Linked DNA regions of Homo sapiens: all the other regions are linked to region 1. The links are contacts of gene promoters, found by promoter capture Hi-C in blood cells and fetal thymus (Javierre and others, 2016). All regions are on one chromosome and are shown on one strand. The core of a region is centred on a gene start or on the middle of the fragment in contact, and the rest is flanking DNA. Distances in the headings are between cores, read along the strand shown.

Evidence for each region. Contacts are between HindIII fragments. The CHiCAGO score rates a contact against its expected background, and 5 or more counts as called.
Region 2: a contact is called between a fragment that was not itself captured here and the fragment with the promoter of CYB5R4 in region 1, in 3 of 17 cell types (megakaryocytes, erythroblasts and fetal thymus). The highest score is 8.0, in megakaryocytes.
Region 3: a fragment that was not itself captured here is called in contact with the fragment with the promoter of CYB5R4 in region 1 in 1 of 17 cell types (total B cells); the score reaches 5.8 in total B cells.
Region 4: a contact is called between a fragment that was not itself captured here and the fragment with the promoter of CYB5R4 in region 1, in 1 of 17 cell types (naive B cells). The highest score is 5.5, in naive B cells.
Region 5: a contact is called between a fragment that was not itself captured here and the fragment with the promoter of CYB5R4 in region 1, in 3 of 17 cell types (total CD4 T cells, total B cells and naive B cells). The highest score is 6.1, in total CD4 T cells.

What each region holds. Positions count from the first base shown.
Region 1 is chr6:83,858,048-83,862,029 of GRCh38, forward strand. It overlaps CYB5R4 (cytochrome b5 reductase 4), which reads left to right and starts at 1,642. Exons shown (of 16, transcript NM_016230.4): 1 at 1,642-1,810. The coding sequence starts at 1,736. The region is part of intron 3 of RIPPLY2-CYB5R4 (RIPPLY2-CYB5R4 readthrough); the gene reads left to right. RefSeq lists a silencer at 1,713-1,762. The HindIII fragment of the contact is 3,476 bases long and covers 1-2,847 here.
Region 2 is chr6:84,771,979-84,775,960 of GRCh38, forward strand. It overlaps LOC124901494 (a long non-coding RNA gene), which reads left to right and starts at 1,828. Exons shown (of 2, transcript XR_007059927.1): 1 at 1,828-2,074. RefSeq lists an enhancer at 1,074-1,688 and a silencer at 2,839-2,988. The HindIII fragment of the contact is 3,598 bases long and covers 309-3,906 here.
Region 3 is chr6:83,083,614-83,087,595 of GRCh38, forward strand. All of the region lies in intron 1 of DOP1A (DOP1 leucine zipper like protein A), which reads left to right. Among named protein-coding and RNA genes, the nearest start is that of DOP1A, 18 kb to the left of the region's middle. RefSeq lists an enhancer at 3,231-3,380. The HindIII fragment of the contact is 466 bases long and covers 1,547-2,012 here.
Region 4 is chr6:83,165,078-83,169,059 of GRCh38, forward strand. It overlaps DOP1A (DOP1 leucine zipper like protein A), which reads left to right. Exons shown (of 39, transcript NM_015018.4): 39 at 2,785-3,394. The coding sequence ends at 3,090. It overlaps PGM3 (phosphoglucomutase 3), which reads right to left. Exons shown (of 13, transcript NM_015599.3): 13 at 1-3,982. Among named protein-coding and RNA genes, the nearest start is that of PGM3, 26 kb to the right of the region's middle. The HindIII fragment of the contact is 894 bases long and covers 1,649-2,542 here.
Region 5 is chr6:83,209,592-83,213,573 of GRCh38, forward strand. ME1 (malic enzyme 1) reads right to left here. Exons shown (of 14, transcript NM_002395.6): 14 at 811-2,503. The coding sequence ends at 2,333. Among named protein-coding and RNA genes, the nearest start is that of RWDD2A, 18 kb to the left of the region's middle. The HindIII fragment of the contact is 3,037 bases long and covers 187-3,223 here.

The sequences.
Region 1 (3,982 bases), core at 392-2,891:
TTAAAACAAAACGTTTAAATTTGAGTGATTGATATGGAGTCTAAAAAAGTGGAGTCTAAAGGCCAGAAGTTGATAGCATCTTCCATTTCTGTACAAAGGGGAGCTAAGAAATTTGGAAAGCATGGAACATTCTTCAACAATATTAACTTTTCCTTGCTCTGGTTCTCTGCTTTTGATATTCTTATGTAAAAGTTTTCTCACGAGAAGTGAAATAAATCTCAGTGATTAGTTTTTCTTGTGTAGACTCTAGAAGAATATGTCATCATTTAATGAGAGAGAACACAGAAGCAATTTGCAAAGTCAAAGTAATACAGTTAATTATAGTCATGAGGTTCTTTTAGCTCAAATTCAGTCTTCTCATAATAAGCATTTCAATTGCAAATAAAAATGGATAGAGGTGAATGTCATAGGTGGCTACCTTATTTGAATGCTTGTATTTGAATGGCCACATATAGTCACACACTTTTTCTTCTGATTCTGCAAACATAACCTTGATTTTTTAGGCACTTTAAGAACTAAGTAGTTAAACAGAGAAAGTTTAAAGCATGACAATATGTTCAGAGTTAGGAAAAATTAGTAATTAAAGGAGGATGGGGAGGATTATTTAGAACTATGTTTCTTCTCCTGAAAACTTTCTCCCTTATTGGATTCTACTCTCAAGATCTATGTGTTCCCCAAGGGACACACAAAACAATCAATCAAACAAACAAAAACCATCAGATTTTGAGCATTAGAGCCTGGTGTTTACCTGCACAGTGTTGGTCCTTTTCCCATTAATATGTTGGAATAGCACAAACAGCCACTGCCACTTATTCAGTACCTAATATTAATCAGGCACTGCAGTATGTAGTTTACACATGATCCTTTAATCTTTAATAAACCCATTATGCAGATGGGGAAAATGAGACTTTGAGATACTAAAGTAACTTGCATAAGACAGCTCAGTCATTAAGTGCAGGGATGGCATGCAAACCAAATCTGACTTTTAAACGTTACTTCATCACCACAGCTGGAGGTGAGCTGCATCAGTACACAATTCCCAGTGAAGACAGGAAGTTACATAAGGAGGGAGAATTTGTGAGTGGGTGAATAGAGCAGAAGGTGACTTTACTAACGTCTTTCGCGCATTCATTAGCCCTCAGCATGCTTAAAGGTGAAGTTTAAGGATGATTAAAGGTGAGGTTTTCTTCTTACCCCACAGTAGTGGCTGTTGACATTTGATATTTTTGCTCTTAAAGGTGTGAGATGCTCTTTGCATTACAGCCTAGTGCCTTACAGGAAAGAATTTCAGAGAAACTAAAATTCGTTTTAGTCCATATTTCAAGTAGTGTGTTTTAGTCCATATTTCAAGTAGTGTGATGGTACTGCTTAACAATGAACAGACATTGCTGTTCCGGGTTAACAGGACTAAGAATTTGTTCCCACATTCGGTCAGCACCAAGGCTAAGGAACAGCTTCACTCTCTAATCTTTCCACGAAATAGCTGTCACCTTGCTCCGGTGCTGAAGTTCGGGATGCGGAACTAGCTGAGCATGCGTACTTCCTCCCTGCCGGCCCTCCCTCCGTCCCGTTGGCTCCGCCCTCCGCGGACGTGCTGCGTCAGAATGCGCCTCACCCCTGGCGACCCCGGAAGTGGGTCGGGGGCTTGGCCTCTGCCCGGCCACAGAGCCGGAGCTGGAGGTGCTGTCCCGTCTGGCGGCGATCCCCGGGCAGGGCCCGGGGCCGGGGTTTGAAGATGCTGAACGTCCCTTCCCAGTCTTTCCCGGCCCCCAGGTCGCAGCAGCGTGTCGCCTCCGGGGGGCGTAGCAAGGTAAGCGGGTGGCTCCGTGAGTCTCTCCCCTCGCTGCGTTTCGAGCTCTGGCAGTGTGTTCTCTTCTTCCGCCCCAACTCCCAGCTCCTGCACCCCTCTCTAAGCTGTCGTTCCCTGCTGTCCTTGCCTGCAACCTCTTTCTGATCCCACTTTGTCTACAGTCCCTAAACTCTCCTTACCTCCTCCCTTTCCCCTAGCAGTCCCTCTTCTTTCTGGTCCTTTATCCCGCTCTATCCGTTCCCTTCCTCCAAGTCCTTTCCCGCGATTTAAATTTATATGACAGAGCCAGGCACTGTGTTTGCGGTATTATAGGCTCTCGGTATTAGCCGCCTTCCCTCAACCTCATCTTCTCCCTGGTCTTTTGTTCTTCACTGCCTGAAGGAGTTGTACCACATCACTCGATGTGGGTTCCCTCGCAGGAGGGAAAGGCTTGGCAGTGGCGACAGTGACCGTCCGTGCAAGGATGGGGACTTCTGGAGTTGGGGAGCTAGGTCAGGTTTACAGACACTATCCAAGACATACTGCCTTTCTTTCTTCCTCTGGTACCTGATTGTTTTGTCATTGCCTTTTCTACTAGTATCACTTGCTAACTTCGAAGCAAATATAATAATACTCTTGAGTTCTTGTTGAGCACAGTTGCTGTTAGCAACAGGTGGAATACTGTACAGATATATTTTATATTTGCAGAATTCAATAAAAATTGTGTTCTTTGTTCTTTTGCGAATGTTGTTTGTTCCTATTTGTTAGTTCCTCATTCTGTAACCATATCTTTATCTTTCGTTTGTGACACTTCCACTTAACTTGGGCCACTCGGTTAACTCTTGAGTCTTAGCATCGTTTGGAACCCTTATCGATTTTCTTATTTTTCTCCACTTAGACCTGGCGTTCTGATTCTAGTTCAGAATGAATATAGGTTCAGGGATCTGTGGTTTTCATTAGCTTTCCAGAGATTTCTTAAGTACTTACGGGTGGCCGTGTATATTCTCAGTGCTTTGCATGTATTAACTTTAATTTTCACAATTATCCTTTGAAGTGAAAGCTTTTATTGTCTCTATTTCGCAGAAAAGGAAACTGGCTAAGAAATATTGCCCTAAATTGCGTAGGCTTGTGTTGTGGTTCTGCTGTGAAATTTCATTTACTGATTCATATATCAATCATCTAGCCATCCAATCATGTATATTTTTCTCATTGGTTTTTGACCTATTTCTTGAAGCTAAATACTTGACTGAATAACAGTCTTTCCAGAAAGAATCTCTGAATTAGAATATGAGTTACTGCCCTTCTTCGTTAAAAATACCAACTGTGTTCTTAGCATCCATTTAAAGGAGAAAACTTAGAAGCAAAGACAAAAAGTCACACAGGGGGCGATGGCAAAGGTGAGTTTTTGGTCCAAAAAGAGAACAAAATAAGATTATTGTGCAATTCTAAGGAAAAGTCAGACTCCAGTCTTCTTCCTCTTTTCTTTGTGAAACAAGATGATGCTGAGAATGTAAAAACTGAGTCAGGTTTGGATGAAATGGGTAGAGGTTGAGAAAATAGAACCAAGTTGGGAAGGTCGTGTATTATACAAAAGGTTCTCAAATAGTGTTGTTTCATTCAACAGCATTTAGTTATAATATTGATGAGAAAAAAAATTCGTTTTGGCCAGGGCCACTGTCTTTGGAGTTTGCATGCTCTGTGTCTGCGTGGGTTTTCTCTGGGTACTCTGGTTTCCTGCTACAGCCCAAAGATATGCAAGTTAGGTTAATTGGTGTGTCTAAATGGTCCCAGTCTGTGTGAATATTGGGTGTGTATGAGTGTGCCTTGCCATAGGATGGCATCCTGTCCAAGGTCGGTTCCTGCCTTGTGCCCTGAGCTACTGGGATAGGCTCTGACTACCTGTGACATTGAACTGGAATAGTTGGGTAAATAATTATCTTACTTGTTTTTTAATTAATCTTTCTTAAATGTATATATAGCTAACATTTCTTTCAGTGTTTAATATTAGAAGTATTTTGGTCTTTATTTAGAAGTCTGGTGATGTTTTTGTGACCAGAAATATGCTGCAGGAAATTTTGTTTGTCAATTAACCCACGGTAAAATTAGTTTCGTTGTACATAGTTTAGTTTCCAAGCACCTAGTGACTAGCTTAAGTGAAGGCTTATTGTAATTTTTTAAAGGCACAGATTTTGA
Region 2 (3,982 bases), core at 858-3,357, 910 kb after region 1:
CCAGGCTTTGGATCACTTGGTCTCTGTGAGACAGTGAGGAATCGAGCGTTTCATATTATGGGTTTCCAGAAAGACGTGGGAGACGAATGAGGCGCAGAAAAACTTATCAGCTTCTTTTCCATCTGCCTCGGAAAGGTGGAAACAAGGAGAGCGCTGCAGAAATTTCTAATTTTTTTATTTTCCAAGTTTTTGTTGCTTCTTGAGCTCCTGTCCTGCCCTGTCCAGGCCATTCCACGTCCCCGTCCCCTTGTTTCCACTTATAATTAGAACTTTGTAAGGGGGCCCCAACCTGACTCCATCCGAGAGTAAGCTTAGTTCGGGATTATTAATTTTTTATGTAGCATTTATTACTTGATATTATTTAATAACAAAACTCTCAATAAAGTAAAAAGAAAGAAGTCAGTCCAGTTTCCGGGGACACCCTAAAATCCCTGGGGGCGGTTCCCACTGGTAAAATACTAAGGAATTCGTATTTCCGATGAAGTTCCAAAGCTGAAATTAAAATCCAGTCTGGGTTTCTGAAGCTCATATTGTTTTGGACAATATCTGCGTTTTCTTTCATTTAGTTTTCGTTCTTTCTGGTTTTGGTGCTTTTTCTTTTCTTTTCTTCTTTTTTTTTTTTTTTTACATTGCCGAAGACAATCTGATTTACAGTTTGACTGAGAGTTGCATTTCTGTTTAGAAGGTGAAACGTCTAAATCGCTTAGCCAAATTATTCCCCGACGGCTCCAATATTGTGCCAGAGTCCCAGAGTCAGTTATTTTTATGTCTGACTGTATTTCACATGTGCAGGGTGATAAATAAAATCCGTCTCAAGCTACAAACTATCTGAGTGTGATGAGGAACAATCGACAAAAATTAACCCAGCCAAAGCGTTGGGGTTCAAGCGAGCGACTGGACCATAAATCAGCGTCGCGGTGGCGTCGGGAAGCTGAGCGCTCGGAGGTGCACTCAGCTGCCTCTGGGTTCGCCCAGTCCGAGAGCGGGGCTCCGCCGCGGGAGCCCGGGCAGGAATCGGACTCCGCCAGGGGTTCGGAGTCTTCTGGGGAAAGGGCGTGTTGGGAGAGAAAGGCAAGCCCACGCAGGAGCGACCTCCTAATTAATTCATCATCGAGAATTCTCCAGTGGGGTGTGTGTGTGTGTGTGTGTGTGTGTGTGTGTGTGTAAAATCAAAAAAGACTTGGGAGGCAAACTTGGGTGGGAAGCACTGAGGAAGGCGAAACAATTCCCAACTTATCTGGATCCCAGACGAGTCCCTCTGATTGCTTAAGTCACTAGAAAAGGAGATTCGTCTCAGCGATTAACAATGATACCCTTTTTAAGAGAGATCAAAGAAGGCGCCTAGGGAAGCTCTACAACGCGGCTTCTTGGAGTTCTGAGGCCGCCTGCGCATTCACTTTCCAGTGTAAGCCCCCGCTCCGGAATCCCGGCTCCAGCCCAGCCCGCGCCCCCTTCCCTGGAAAGACCTGGCCGGCCGCGCCCCCGAACCCCCGAGGCGTGGGTGTCAGGCTAAGCGGGGCTGGTCCGACCGGTCGCTTCCAGCTCTCTCCACCTGTTGGAAAGCCCAGGCCCAAGAACCGCGCCAGCGGCGGCAGCACGTCACTCGGCGGCCACGGGGAGTCAGGGAGCGCGGAACGCGGGTTTCTGTTGATAAGTGCAAAGTACGGCCCTCTCGGTGCTAAGTGCACAGTAAGTGCGAAGAATAAATACATCATCTCCCGGGGCGGCTGTCTCGAAAACGCCTCTCAGCTGCCTGCGTTTCAGAGCCCGTCAAGGGTTATAGCTTAGTGTGGGCGTCCGCGCCGCGCCTGCGCCTCCGAGCGCCGGCCGAGAAGGGCGCGCAGCCACAGCCACCACATGCCACTAGCCCCGCAAGGCGCCTGACTCCTCTAAGGGGAACTCGTAATGCTCACCAAAAGCCTCAGAAACCCTGGAACCTATAAGACCGCACCACCGCGCAAACGGTGTCCCGGGCTGCGCTCCCGCACTGCACCGGCAGCCTATGAGGCGAGGCCAACCCGGAGACTGCGCGCGACGGGCGTGCGTGCGTGCGCCCGCAGATTCGCTTCAGGCGGTAGGTGTGGAGTACCTGGGCAGCTCCGGCGGGAATGGTGTTGGGGAGAAGGAGCTGTCATTCATAGTCTTCTACATATCTGAATAAAGAATTGCTTTTTAAAAATAGGTTCAGAGCCTAGTGAGTGAAAACTTAAAAGTCCCCGCGAGGAGCTCTAGTTCCCGGGCGGCGCGGCCCCGACTTTCTCGTCGGTAGCGCTCTGGCCTTGGGCGCCCGCCGCTTTGGCTATGGAGGTACAGTGGCCGCGTCCCGGGGAGCCTGGGCCTCCTTGCGGCTCCGAGCCTCCGCGGCGCCCGCGCCCCGACTCTCCGGTCCCGGCTCTCTCCAGGCCCGGCTGTCTCCGGTCCCTCACTGACTTCGCCAGCCGCACCACCCACCTCTTTCTCCCGCAGACGTAAACCCGAATACGCCCCGGCCTTGGGCCTAGGGCCTCGGCCTCGCCTGGCTCTACAGGATTCGGGGGCGGGGTAGGCCGGCAGAGCTCAGCTCGCGCCGTGGGTCCACATGTTTTTATTTCGTGACCCTGACCGCGTCCCGGCCATAACTTCCTCTGCGTTACAACGGGGATAATAATCCCCGGCCGGCCTGCCGGATGGTGGCGGGATAATATATCCCGGTGAGGGAAGGACCGAGCTTGGCAGAGACACTTAACTGTCCCACTGTGTGGCTGTTCACAGTCCGCCCAGATTTAGGGGTGGGATGGGGGGTTTTCGGGCCCCGGCCTGCTCCCCCTCTCCAGACCCCGCAGAAAGGGGTTCATGGGCAATTAGGTTCCGCTGGACTCGCCGGGCTGCGGGCGGGTGAGCGCCGCCGGGCACCGGGCGGGGGCACGTGGCGCCCTCTGGGGACCGTCCGCCGCACTGCCTGGCGTCCTGCCTGGGGAGGCGCAGCCTAGCCCAGCACCTCCCGCCGTCTCAGGCTCGGAGGAGCTCTGTACCTGGCTCCGCGCTGACCCCTCCACCTGGCTGAAGGCAGCAGCCCTGGGAGACTCTGGCACTCTGGGCCGGAGCAGGAGCTGTGCCCCATGGCAACCCAGACTGAAAGGGAAGCCCTGTCTGTTGCTCTTTGCTGCGGATTCGAGGGAGGCCGTCTCGAGTCGCTCAGAAGCGACCTAAAGAAGGCACTGGCCTCTGTGCGCCGAACCTCCACGAGATAGACTAAGTCTCCCAACCGTTTACAAAAATATGAAGCCATCTGGAAAAGCGAGCAACCACATGGATGGAGGGAAACAATTAAAAATAAAAGGTAATTAGGAGGAGGGACCTGAAAGGAATATTAACGTAAATGTTCTTTGCGCTTGAGTGTGAGATAACCCCAGATTTTATTTTATGAATTTCTGTCTAAACCTCAGAATTTTAATGGAACAAACGAACCAACCGACAAACAAAAATGCCAAGTATCCTCAAGCCCTGGCCAGCTAAGGGATATTTCCCAGTCAAGTTCCCAAGACCCATTACCGTTATCATCGCTCCATGTAGTGGTGGATGAATGAGCAACTCCTCCATTGCATTTCCATTTAAAATCCCAGGACACTCCACCTGTAACTTTCTTTGACTTCTCTCATTAGTGAAGTTATTTTTGCCCCCCCCACTTTTTTTTTTGTTTAGAAGGGCACATTTCACAAGTTTATCAGTAAATCAACTGTTTCAAACTGCCCCCATCTTGAATGATAGCTGACCAAAAAAAAAACAAAAGCAAAGTAAAGGCATATAGGGTGGTGATCTAAAGTGCTTACGGACTCTCAGTTGCATAGTTATTTCTAAGGCTTCATTTTTTACAAAATGAAACATTTTGGGGCAGTTACAGTTACATTAGTACATGTTGTGGAAATAAGCTTGCATTTAGGGAAAAATTATTAGAAACAGCTGTGATGTTAATGATTCAAAACCCAAAGTACTCAGTATGCTT
Region 3 (3,982 bases), core at 530-3,029, 770 kb before region 1:
AAGGGCTTAGTATAGTGCCTGGCACAGAGTAATTTGTAAGTCAGTATCAACTGTGATTATTATCATCATCTTGAGTAATACGTGGACAATGTTTATTTGGCTACTATGCTTTGGAGACAGGATGATCCTTTGTAACTCAAGGGTATGTGCTTAAGTGTTTATTATTATGGCTGTTTGCCATTTGAAGCTTAAAGTAGAATCCCACCTACCTGCTAATGGCTCATTCCAAGTTATAAATGGTGCTTATGTTTTGTATTTTCTAAAATTAATATTTTCATATTGCTATGTGTACCAGAAATCACAGAATTTGAAATGAGAAAGAATCTGATTTTATAGCATTCAGAGACAATTTTTAATAACGTATATAATTTTGTGTATATTTACTTGGTAAAAAAAGAAATCGTAAAGTTAAATCAGCTTCACTGTCACCTTGGCAGATCTATGGGCTTTTAAACCTCTTGTGTCTTAGGTTTTTATTCGTATAGCTTTTCTGAGACCTAAAGTGAAAATATAAATAGTCATATGCTGTATAACATTTCAATGATGGCCCACCTATGTAACAGTGGTCCCGTAAGGTTTTAATACTGTATTTTACTGTACTTTTCTATTTTTAGGTACACAAATACTTACTGTTGTGTTACAGTTACCTACAGTATTCAATATATAACATGCTGTACAGGTTTGCAGCCTAGGAGCAATAGGTTATACCATATAGCCAGGATGTGTAGTAGGGTTTACCATTATGTCTGTTTAAGCATGTTCTATGAATGTTCACACAATAACTAAATCACCCAACAACACATCTCAGAACATATTCCCATCAAGCAATGCATGACTATAAATAAGTACATAAAGTATAATAAAACTTTTTCCAAATTTTTCTCCAGCTTGAGATTTGCAGCTAATTAATTTGAAAAGATTTGACTTCGACGTCTGGGAGTATCATACCTAAGTAGTTTGTTTTTTTTGTTTTGTTTTGTTTTTTTTGAGACAGAGTCTTGCTTTGTAGCCCAGGCTGGAGTACAGTGGCACCATTTTGGCTCACTGCAGCCTCTACCTCCTGGGTTCAAGCGATTCTTGTGCCTCAGCCACCCAAGAGGCTGGGATTACAGGCACGCACCACCACACCTGGCTAATTTTTGTATTTTTTTTTTTTTTTAGTAGAGATGGTTTCACCATGTTGGCCAGGCTGGTCTCGAACTCCTGGCCTCAAGTGATCTGCCTGCCTTGGCCTCCCAAAGTGCTGGGATTACAAGCATGAGCCACTGCACCCAGCCTAAATAGGATTTTTTAAATCTCCTTTCACAGGGCTGGAATGACTTCCTTCACATTTAGATAGTTATGTTTAATACAGATTAAACTGAGCCAGTTTTTTAAAAGTGTAACTGGAATGTACACATTTTTATAAATGTTCTTAGGCAATCTGTTTTTTAAAGCACTTAATAGCCATGTGAATGTATTCTGTATTTGAGGAGAGTAAGGTCAAGTGTGACTATACTAGTTAAGAAATAGAACTGTAGTTCTGCTTTTTATTTTTCTTCTACAAAGCTTTTCTCAGAAAAAACAAACGAAAATGGTTTAACTATATTGTCGTTGATAGATTAGTTCATTTATTCAGATTATATTTGAGGCCCTACTGTTTATCAGCCACTATTATGGGACTGCCGATGCAGGTATGAACAACTAAGATAAGGCTATTGACTTCATAGTATTTGCATCCCATTGAGAGATGATAGACAGGAAACAAGCAAATAAATAGGAAAATTTCAAAGTGTAACAAATGCTAATAAGGAAATAATGTGATGTTATAGGGTATGTGGTAAGAGTTTGGCCCCAGGCAGGCTACTTAGACTGATCAGAAAGAACTTTTGGTAGGGTTTGATATTACTGGAGGACGGGAAGAAATCTGTCACATAGAGTTGACCAAAGAGATTTTAAATGTAGAGAATAGCAAGAACAAAATGCCTAGAATGCAAAAAAAATTGGTGTATTTGAGTTTGGATATTATTCTAAGCTTTGTATTGGAATATTTGTATTTAGGGTATAGCTAAGATGTTGCTGTTTCTGCTGTATCAGAAGAGGTCTTATCCTTAGAGAATAATTAAGACTAGAAGGTGACCAGGACAAGCTTTGAGGAAAACCATTGATGGGTTTTTTGCGGTATTTTATGTTATGTTATGTTATGTTATGTTATGTTATGTTATGTTATGTTATGTTATGTTATTTTGAGACAGAGTCTCGCTCTATCGCCATTGACAGGTTTTAGGCAAAGGAATGACATAATGTGTCTCTGGCTTCTCTGTGGAGGATGAATTATGCAGACTCTCAAGAATAGAAGCAGGAATCAGTGGTGTGCTGGAGTGGGCTATAACTGGTTAGAATAATAGAAGAGGAAAAGTGGCAGGTATAGATTTAGGACACATCAGTTAACAGATGCTATTGGAGCTATAGGACTATAGGAGATAACCTAAAGGGAAAGAAGAGAGGAGGGTTCCTGATTGAACCTTGAAGTAAGGCTGACCCATGAATCGAAAATCCACGTATAATTTTTGACTCCCCAAAAACTTTACTAATAGCCTACTATAGACTGGAAGCCTTACTGGTAACATAAATGGTTGATTAACACATTTGTAGGTTATATGTATAATATGCTGTATTCTTATAATGAAATAAGCTAGAGAAAAGAAAATAGTAAGAAAACCATAAGAGAAAATATATGTACTGTTCATTAAGTGGAAGTGGATCATCACAAAGATCTTCATGAACCTCATTGTCTTCACTGTGAGTGGGCAGAGGAAGAGGAGGAGAAAGAAGAGAGGTTGGTCTTGCTGTCTTGGGTAGGTAGTAGAAGTGGAAGAAAATCCACGAAGAAACGGACCCATGCAACTCAAATTGCATGTTTTTCAAGACTCAGCTGTACCTCAGCATTTAAAATTGAATAGAAAAGAGAAGCCAACATAAACTGAAAAAAAGAGGCTAAGAGATAACAAACCTTGAGAGGGAAGAGTCCCGGAAGCCAAAAACAAGGTATTGAATACTGCTGAGTTGAATAAAATGAGGGGCTACAGAAGTGACCTTTGGCTTTGGTTAAAGCACATTATGGGTGATTTTTATACGGGTTTTTTTCCTGGAGGGACAGTCCCATAGGCATTTCACGGAGTCTGAAGAGTGAATAAAAGATAAGGAAAAAATAGCAAATATAGAGAAATCTTTCAGGTTTTGCTATGAGAGAATAAAGAAATGGGTTGGCAGCCAGAGAGCCTGTGGGGGTCAAGGAAAGGCTATGGGTTTTAATTTTAGTTTTAGTTTTAGTTTTAGTTTTAGACCATGAGAGATTCGGGGGGTAGACTTTAGGCTGTAGACAGGAAAAGAAACTGATAGTATTGAAGGAGCCTGAGCTAATAGTCCTTGGGAAGGCAAGAGGAGACCAGATTCAGAACACAGCAAGAGGGAGGCCTTTACTGGGAGGAAGGTCCTTTGTCCTTCATAATGGAAAGAAAAGTAGAGAATATGGGTATAGGTGAAGATAGGTTACAGATTTGTTGGAGGGAAGGTAAGAATATTCTTTTTGCTTCCATTTTCTTAAGTTTGAAACTAGATCTTTAGCAATGATGGAGGGAAGACAGTATTAGGATTTTGAGAAGAGAAGGTATGAAATAGTTGTGTCAAGAACTTAAATTTACTAAGGAAACAGTGGGTTAGGATAGTGTTGAGTACCTGTTTGAAGTTTGTGCTTCTCAATTTAAGTCAACCTGATTGTATGATTTTTTTCTCCAATGTTTAGTTGCTCATTTTCAGGCTGAAAACAAAAAAAAACATGTAGTTGAGTTTAACCAGGATTGGAGTTTTGTCAGATGAGTATAAAGAGGAAGATTCCACACTCTTTACCCCAAGGTAGGATGGGTATGAGAAGGAAAACAGCCTCCGTGAAAGTGAAGAGTAATGACTAGGAGTTAGGACTCTAAAGCCAAATTGCTTGTGT
Region 4 (3,982 bases), core at 846-3,345, 690 kb before region 1:
ACAAGGATATTCATTTTCCTTCAGGACAAAGTCATCTCTGTACGCCCTTTATTGTTGAATTGCAGTTTGATTTAGGGGATTAGAGGTGGTATGGTACCAGTAATTGAGTAATGGTGGAAATGTGAAAGTCAGTCACAGGACTCTCATTGGTGCCAGTGTCATAGTTAAGAAAGAAAGAAAGAAAGTTTTATATATCCTGTAATCTAGACTGGAAGCTAAATAATTGCTAGGAAGCAAACTTAAGTGATAGCTGTTAAGTTTTTTGGTTTGTTTTTGACCAGAGATGATGAAGTAGGTGATCTTTTCTTGGTTTGCTCCTAGACTCTTCCATTTTAACTTATATTTTTAGTTTGGTGCAAAAGTAATTGCTGTTTGGGACCATGAATTTTAAGTCATTATAACTAGGTTCACACAAATCTTTATTAATTAAAATAGGAACCATTACAATCAACACATTTTTGCCAATGAGAAATAAGTTTGTTTACTCCTGTAGCATAAAAATCCATGCTTCCAAATTTGACGAACTCTTGGAAAGCATTTTCTGTGTCCTGCTAGTTGTGGAAGCAATTTCCCTGCAAAACGTTGCTGAGATGCCTAAAGAAGTGGTAGTTTGTTGGCAAGAGGTCAGGTGAATATGGCAGATGAGGCAAAACTTCATAGCCCAATTAGTTCAATTTTCGAAGCGTTGGTTGTGCAACGTGCGGCCCAGTGTTGTCGTGAAAAGAATTGGGCCCTTTCTGGTGGCCAATGCCGGCTGCAGGCATTGCAGTTTTTGGTGCATCTCATTGATTTGCTGAGCATACTTATCAGATGTAATGGTTTCACCTGGATTCAGAAAGCTGTAGTGGATCAGACTGGCAGCAAACCACCAAACAATGACCATGACCATTTTTTGGAGCAAGTTTGGCTTTGGGAAGTGCTTTGGAGCTTCTTTCAGTCCAGCCACTGAGCTGGTCATCGCCAGTTGTCGTATAAAATCCACCTTTTGGCACACATCACAATCCGATAGAGAAATGATTCATTATTGTTGCATAGAATAGAGAAAATGACACTTCAAAACAACGAATTTTTTTATTTTTCACTCAGCTCATGAGGCACCCATTTATTGAGCTTTTTCACCTTTTCAATTTGCTTCAAATGCCGAACGACCATAAAATGGTCAACATTGAGTTCTTGGGCAGCTCTCTTATAGTTGTAAGAGGATCAGCTTCGATGATGTTCTCAATTGGTCATTATCAATTTCCGATGACTGGCCACTGCACTCCTCATCTTCAAGGCTCTAGTCTCCTTTGCAAAACTTCTTGAGCCATCACGGCACTGTATGTTCATTAGCAGTTCCTGGGCCAAATGCATTGTTGATGTTGTGTGTTGTCTCTGCTGCTTTATAACCTATTTTGAACTCAGAAAATCGCTAAATTTGATTTTTGTCTAACATCATTTCCATAGTCTAAAATAAATATAAACAGCAATAAGTCATTAGCAAAAAAAAAGTGAGAAATATGCTTAAAATGATGTATAACATAACCACATTTATTTAAGAATGTACTCCAATATAAAACGGCAAATTTCAACAATGCAAAAACCGCAATTACGTTTGCACCAACCTAATATTTTCCTTTTTCAGGATTTTACTTTAAAATAAGCAATAAGCTTGAGAGCACATAGAAGAAAATAAGCTGGATTTTGCATCTGCTTGACCCACTAGGAAACTAGTGATATTAAATTATTAGGTAAACAATGAAAGTTTCTGAGCAACATCTGATCTTAGAAGGCAAACTCCATTTGTTAATATGACAGATTGTAATTCTGCTTCCTAAGTCTTCATGATTTCTTCCTTCTGTCTAGTTCATTGCTTATTTTCATTCTTTAGTGTGGAATTGTATCTGTGATTCTGCCCAAGTTCAACCAACCTGTTCTCTCTTATCTTTCTCTAGACAGAATGATGTCTGTAGCTGTGTTTGTGTAATTCAGGTGGCTTCTCAAACTAGCCTCTTAATACCCAAATTATTAGTCTTTATATTTAGTTGACAGAGTTTTCACATACCTTCTCATTTGACTTCTCTACTAAAAGGTAGTTTTAGACTGTCCCATTTTATAAGTGAGGAACCTTTGTATATCCTGCCCAAGGGTGCCGTAAGTATGGCAGAGCCAGCACACTAACTCAATTCCTTTGACTCCAGGTCCAGCTTTCCTCCCTATGTTGTTTAGCACAACCCAGAAGGAGACAGCAGTGTCTCCTGAGGGATCCCTTCCTTTCTCTGTGATGCAGTACTGACAGTAATTATTCACTTTGGACACTGCTACCATCATGGCAAATTTAGGCCATTTAGATAAAAGGGAATTAACTAATTATAATAAAAGGGGATATATTATGAAATGTATAAAGCACTTTGTTCCTTTTTTCTGTAGTAATTTTGTGACCTAGTCCTTGGTTACAGTAGTGAGGGTTCAGAAACCTGGGAGCTTTTTGAGTAAATACAAAGCACAACATAAAACTTTTATGTTTGACTCTATTCCTGTTCAAAGCTATTTCTGTTAACTAAGCTTATCTGCGCATTCTAGTTGGGAACTATTACTACAATGTTAGACTGCTCCATGTAAAACTAATAAATGGCAGTAAAAGGTCTCAGAAGCACCAAGGGTTTTGATCAGGTCAGGAGTTAGAAACTTAATGTCATTTGTATTCATTTCTTGACCAATTGCCAAAGTTTATATATTTTTAATTTTTCTAACATACCACATTGTCTGTTGTATTAATACCAGTTCACTTTTTGTTTTCTGCAGAAAAATCCAGAGGAAGACAACTCAGGGAGAACATTGGGTTGGGAGCCAGGGCACTTGCTGCTCACCATCTGCACCGTGCGCAGTATGGAGCAGCTCCTGCCGTTCTTCAATGTGCTCAGTCAAGTCTTCAACAGCAAAGTCACAAGCCGATGTGGAGGACACTCAGGGAGTCCTATCCTCTACTCAAATGCCTTCCCTAATAAGGACATGAAACTGGAGAACCACAAACCATGTTCCAGCAAAGCCAGGCAAAAAATAGAAGAGATGGTAGAAAAAGATTTTCTGGAAGGGATGATAAAAACTTGAGCACCATTGCTGGTTCCATTTAGCTTACATGTAAATGTAATTATTTAAAACACACACACTGCTCTGCGTTGTATAGTTTTTCCTTTTTTGTATGTAACAGAACACATTTCAGATTGTATTTAATTTAAATATTTGTATATAAGAGCAAATGTCTGAATGTGGCCTGAATCAAGTTTAAATATTGTTGGCTCATACTGATTATGGTGCCTAAGAGAGCTATATATATACACATGTAAAGTCCATTGTTTTTATTGTCCTGAGTTGTCTTAAACCTGCAAAATATACACTACCCATTTTTTTTTTCCATTGGTTTCAGACTTGGTTCAATTAAGATTGGTTGGGGATTTTTCTCTTTTCCTTATTAACCATGTTCTGGTATCAGAATGGTGTTCCTTCTCCATCAGAGGCTGGGAAACGTATTATAATTAGTTTTTCTCCCACATACCTTCACCAAGAGCAGTGAAGAATAACTGAAGGCTGGACCATGCATCCTTAAAAGTATTGCATGAGCATCTCCACCTCAGTATGGAAGAGGGATGGACAACCCCCTATTCATACCTCTGAGTTCCTGATGGCATTAGTCATATAGGTAAGTCATCTAATAATCTTTCTTAAGACTCTGCAATGGAAAAACTGGTTGTATAAAGTCTTCTCTGCCCTCTCCATTTGTATCAGCAATGGGGAATGCTGCAAAACATCATCTTGCTCATGTGATGGTGATGGCAAAGATATCACAAGGAGTTGGTAATAAGATTTAATTTTCCAGTAGCCTGCATGAATTGTTCCCCACATAAAACTGTACAGTTAGTGACTGAATTGTATACTTAAGTCCCAGTATTTTACATTAGTGAGACTGAAATTAGAGGTAAATTTCTTTAACAAGTGTAAGGCT
Region 5 (3,982 bases), core at 455-2,954, 650 kb before region 1:
ATGTTGCAGTGGTAATATTTTGGATATATTGGTTTAAACAAAATATATTATTACCATGAATTCCACCTGTGTCTTTTTTTTATGATGCTACTACAAAATTTAAAATTACACATGGGACAGTGCTGTTCTAGACTGTAGCCTATGGAAAGGAGAACAAACTATAAAGAAAGATGAATATGGATGTAAAGCTTACTTTCTTCAGTTATTCTGTGGACTTGGCAAGTTACTTAAAATATCAACTTCATAAGGAAAGTGAGGGGACTACATTAAAATAATGTATGTGGGATACTTGACACCTAGTAAGTAACTATCTAATGCTTATTTCATTATCTTTCCCTGAGGACAAGGAAGTGGCTCACACATCACAGTGTCCAGAATATGTGATTACATATATATATTTTTTTTTTTCTGAGACAGAGTCTTACTCCATCCCCCAGGCTGGAGTGCAGTGGCATGATCTTGGTTCACTGCAACGTCCAGTGCAAGCGATTCTCGTGCCTCAGCCTCCCAAGTAGCTGGGATTACAGGCATGAGCCACCAAGCCCAGCTAATTTTTATAGTTTTTAGTAGAGATAGGGTTTCACCAGGTTGGCCAGGCTAGTCTTGAACTCCTGACCTCAGGTGATCTGCCTGTCTCAGCCTCCCAAAGTGCCAGGATTACAGGCGTGAGCCACTGTGCCCAGCCACATATGTTTTAAATGAATGATGTTTATACTGAAATTAGCAGTTATTAGAATATTTTAGAAATTCGTCACACATAATCATATGACCCCAAGACCAAGCATTACAATGTAACATTTTAAGAAAAAGGACAATTATTTTATATTTTTATTCATTCACCTTTTCTATGCTTTAATAAATCTTTTGCATAGGTAAACACATTTAGTCAGAGCTATAAGACAACATAGAAACAGACAAGAAATACACAGACATTCTGATTCTTCTCCAAATAACTATTTTGAGGAAACTCTTGACTATATGTTACCTTTAGAAATACCTTAACCTCTTCTGCTCATACCTAAAACAATTTGTGTAACCTTCAACTTTCAATAAAATCATTTTATAGTATAATTTATCTTGAATATCTTATACTCCTTAAAGCATTACTTCAAAAACAAAATTCTTCAAATAATTCTATAAATAAGTAGCAAATGTTATTGCACCTTAGCTTTATAATTTAAAATTTTTTCCATTACTTCAAACATTAGTTTCTAAAGTAAATTAATACAGTCTGGGCATATAACTACTCTTTCTCATAGAATGGTATTAGTCATCAAGATATTTTAATCTTATGTAAGGACATTTCTGATACTGGGAACTTAATTATAATACTTTCTCCAAATTCAGGCAAAAGCAAGATGATTATAACACAGTTAGCTCTTCATTACCTGAGTTAATTAAGAGGCCATTCTGGCAGGTAACTCCAGTAGGAACCTAACTTGTTGTCTTAAAGATCCTGAGATCTTTAAGAGGTCAGTTCCTCAGGCAGCCCTTTCTCAAGGATCTTAACTATATACTCTCCTTTCAGACCTTCTCACTGCTCAGGCTGTGCTGAACTGAAGGTGCCAACCTCGGGACAGGGGCCACAGTCCACAAAATCCCTGTAGCAACAGTATGGTAGCTGAAGGATGGGATGTTTGATCAAGGGGGAAAAAAGGTGATTTCAGGTGGGATTTCTGACTCAGGATCAAGGTAATAAGAGCTTTACTCTATGAGATGTAACAATGACAAAAGAATATTAAAATCTAAGGCTGCACAAGGCGCTGTAAACAGCAGTGATCTTTCTCTTAGAACTGTTAGAATTCCGTTGCACAAAAGAACATATATGATCTAGGACTGGAATAAAAATACTTGAGAAGTTATCTTTCTCTAGGCAACAAAGTAGTGTTATTTCTGCTTAGCAAAAGTTCACCTACGCCTAGATTCATTTCTAGCTTTTTTTTTTTGAAAAGTAGATTTTAACAAAATGGTCAACAAAATAATTATGAGTTTTAATGTTGGTTATGTCAATTTATTAGTAATTTTGGTCTTCCCATTAGTGTCCTGTATAAAAATGATGAGTTTCTCCGTAGTACGTACAACAGCTTTTAAAGAGAACGTAGGCAGAATAATTCAGACAGAAACCATAAATAACCAGAAGGCAAAGTGAAGCAAAATTGTCTCATGTGATGTTTATCCCAATTTATATCGATATTCTTCTATCAATTTTTAGACTGTTAAAGTAAAATCTTAATCTAAGTGTCTTATGAATCATTATAAAAGATTCCAACCTTTAAAAATTATGAAAGGTTTAAAGACCTCATTAATAGAGTTAGAAATGTTTGCTATTATCCTACTGGTCAACTTTGGTCTGTATTTTCTGCACCTCTTCAGGCCAAGAATAACAATCAGGTAGAATCTGGTCATAATCAGTACTATACATCTGGGAGCGGACAAATGCTTCTTTGTTTTGCGGTTCAGGATAAACTGTGGCTGTCTTTTCTTGGTATGCATCTTTCACAATCTAGATATAAGAAAAGAATATTAATTATTTTAATAAATAGAGGTAATCATGAGCCCATGTGAGTGGAAGTTTTTATCCATTTCAAAAACACTGTATCCTATGTTTGCAAAAACATTAAGTGTATTATAATAAAAGCACATATAAGCAATGAAGATATAAAATGAAAATGCAATTATAAATCATATAGTGAGAGAGAAAAATGACATCAGCAACTAAGGAAAGTGTGACCAGGTGAGACTGATTCAAGTACTATCACATCTGGATTTCTCAGAGAAGCCAGTGTTCAAAGTCTTGACATGACCTGACTGACAATTAACTTGAAATAAATACCTAAATAGTCCTGCTAAACTTGAACCTTGAATTTTCAAGAATCCCTATTCTCACCACAGCCTCCTACAAAATCTCTTCCTGTACCCCAGGGTCTCCTGATCTTGCTCAGCTAATCATCTAGACACCACAGTCAGGATGAGCACTCTTTGCCAGCGTCACAGATTCTCTGGTCATCACGCCCTGTGTTTCATGCATAATTCTAGTCCCTCGTCTGGGGACCCCTCAGAGCTGGCTTTCTCCTTTTGTGGCTGTGCATCCTAGAACGATGCAGTAAACTTTCTGTGGTGCTATATTTTTTTTCTAGTCTGCACATTATACTTTTTTCTCTCTTTACTTAAAACTTCCTCTTGTGGTTCCCAAAAAGCAATTCCAAACCTTCCCCCATCTTCAAGCTTCCATTTGACTCTCATCACTCACTGGAGAATCACATCATCATATCACATCATGGGAGAAAATTTCAACTACTCAGAGAAAATGACCTTAATTTCCCTTTTGACCAACTCAGACTATCTCCTCAGTGTCTTCATACATCTTCTCTTTCCCTACTTTCTTTAAATGGATTCTCTTCATCAAAATTAATCACTTCATATATACTATTTAATTCACACCAGTTTTTTTTTTTTTTTGAGATGGAGTCTTACTCTGTCACCCAGGTTGGAGTGCAGTGGCACGATCTCAGCTCACTGCAACCTCTGCCTCCTGGGTTCAAGCGATTCTCTGGCTGGCACAGTGGCTCATGCCTGTAATCCCAGCACTTTGGGAGGCCGAGGCAGGTGGATCACCTGAGGTCAGGAGTTCAAGACCAGCCTGACCAACATGGAGAAACCCCATCTCTACTAAAAATACAAAATTAGCCGGGTGTGGTGGTGCATGCCTGTAACCCTAGCTACTCGGGAGGCTGAGGCAAGAGAATCACTTGAACCCGGGAGGCAGAGGTTGCAGTGAGCCGAGATCACACCATTGTACTCTAGCCTGGGCAACAAGAGCAAAACTCCATCTCAAAAACGAAACAAAACAAAACAAAAAACAACAACAACAAAAAAACAAGCGATTCTCCTGCCTCAGCCTCCCAAGGGTTAACAGGCTCCTGCCACCACACCCGGCTAATTTCTGTACTTTTTTAGAAGAGAAGGGGTTTCGCCATGTTGG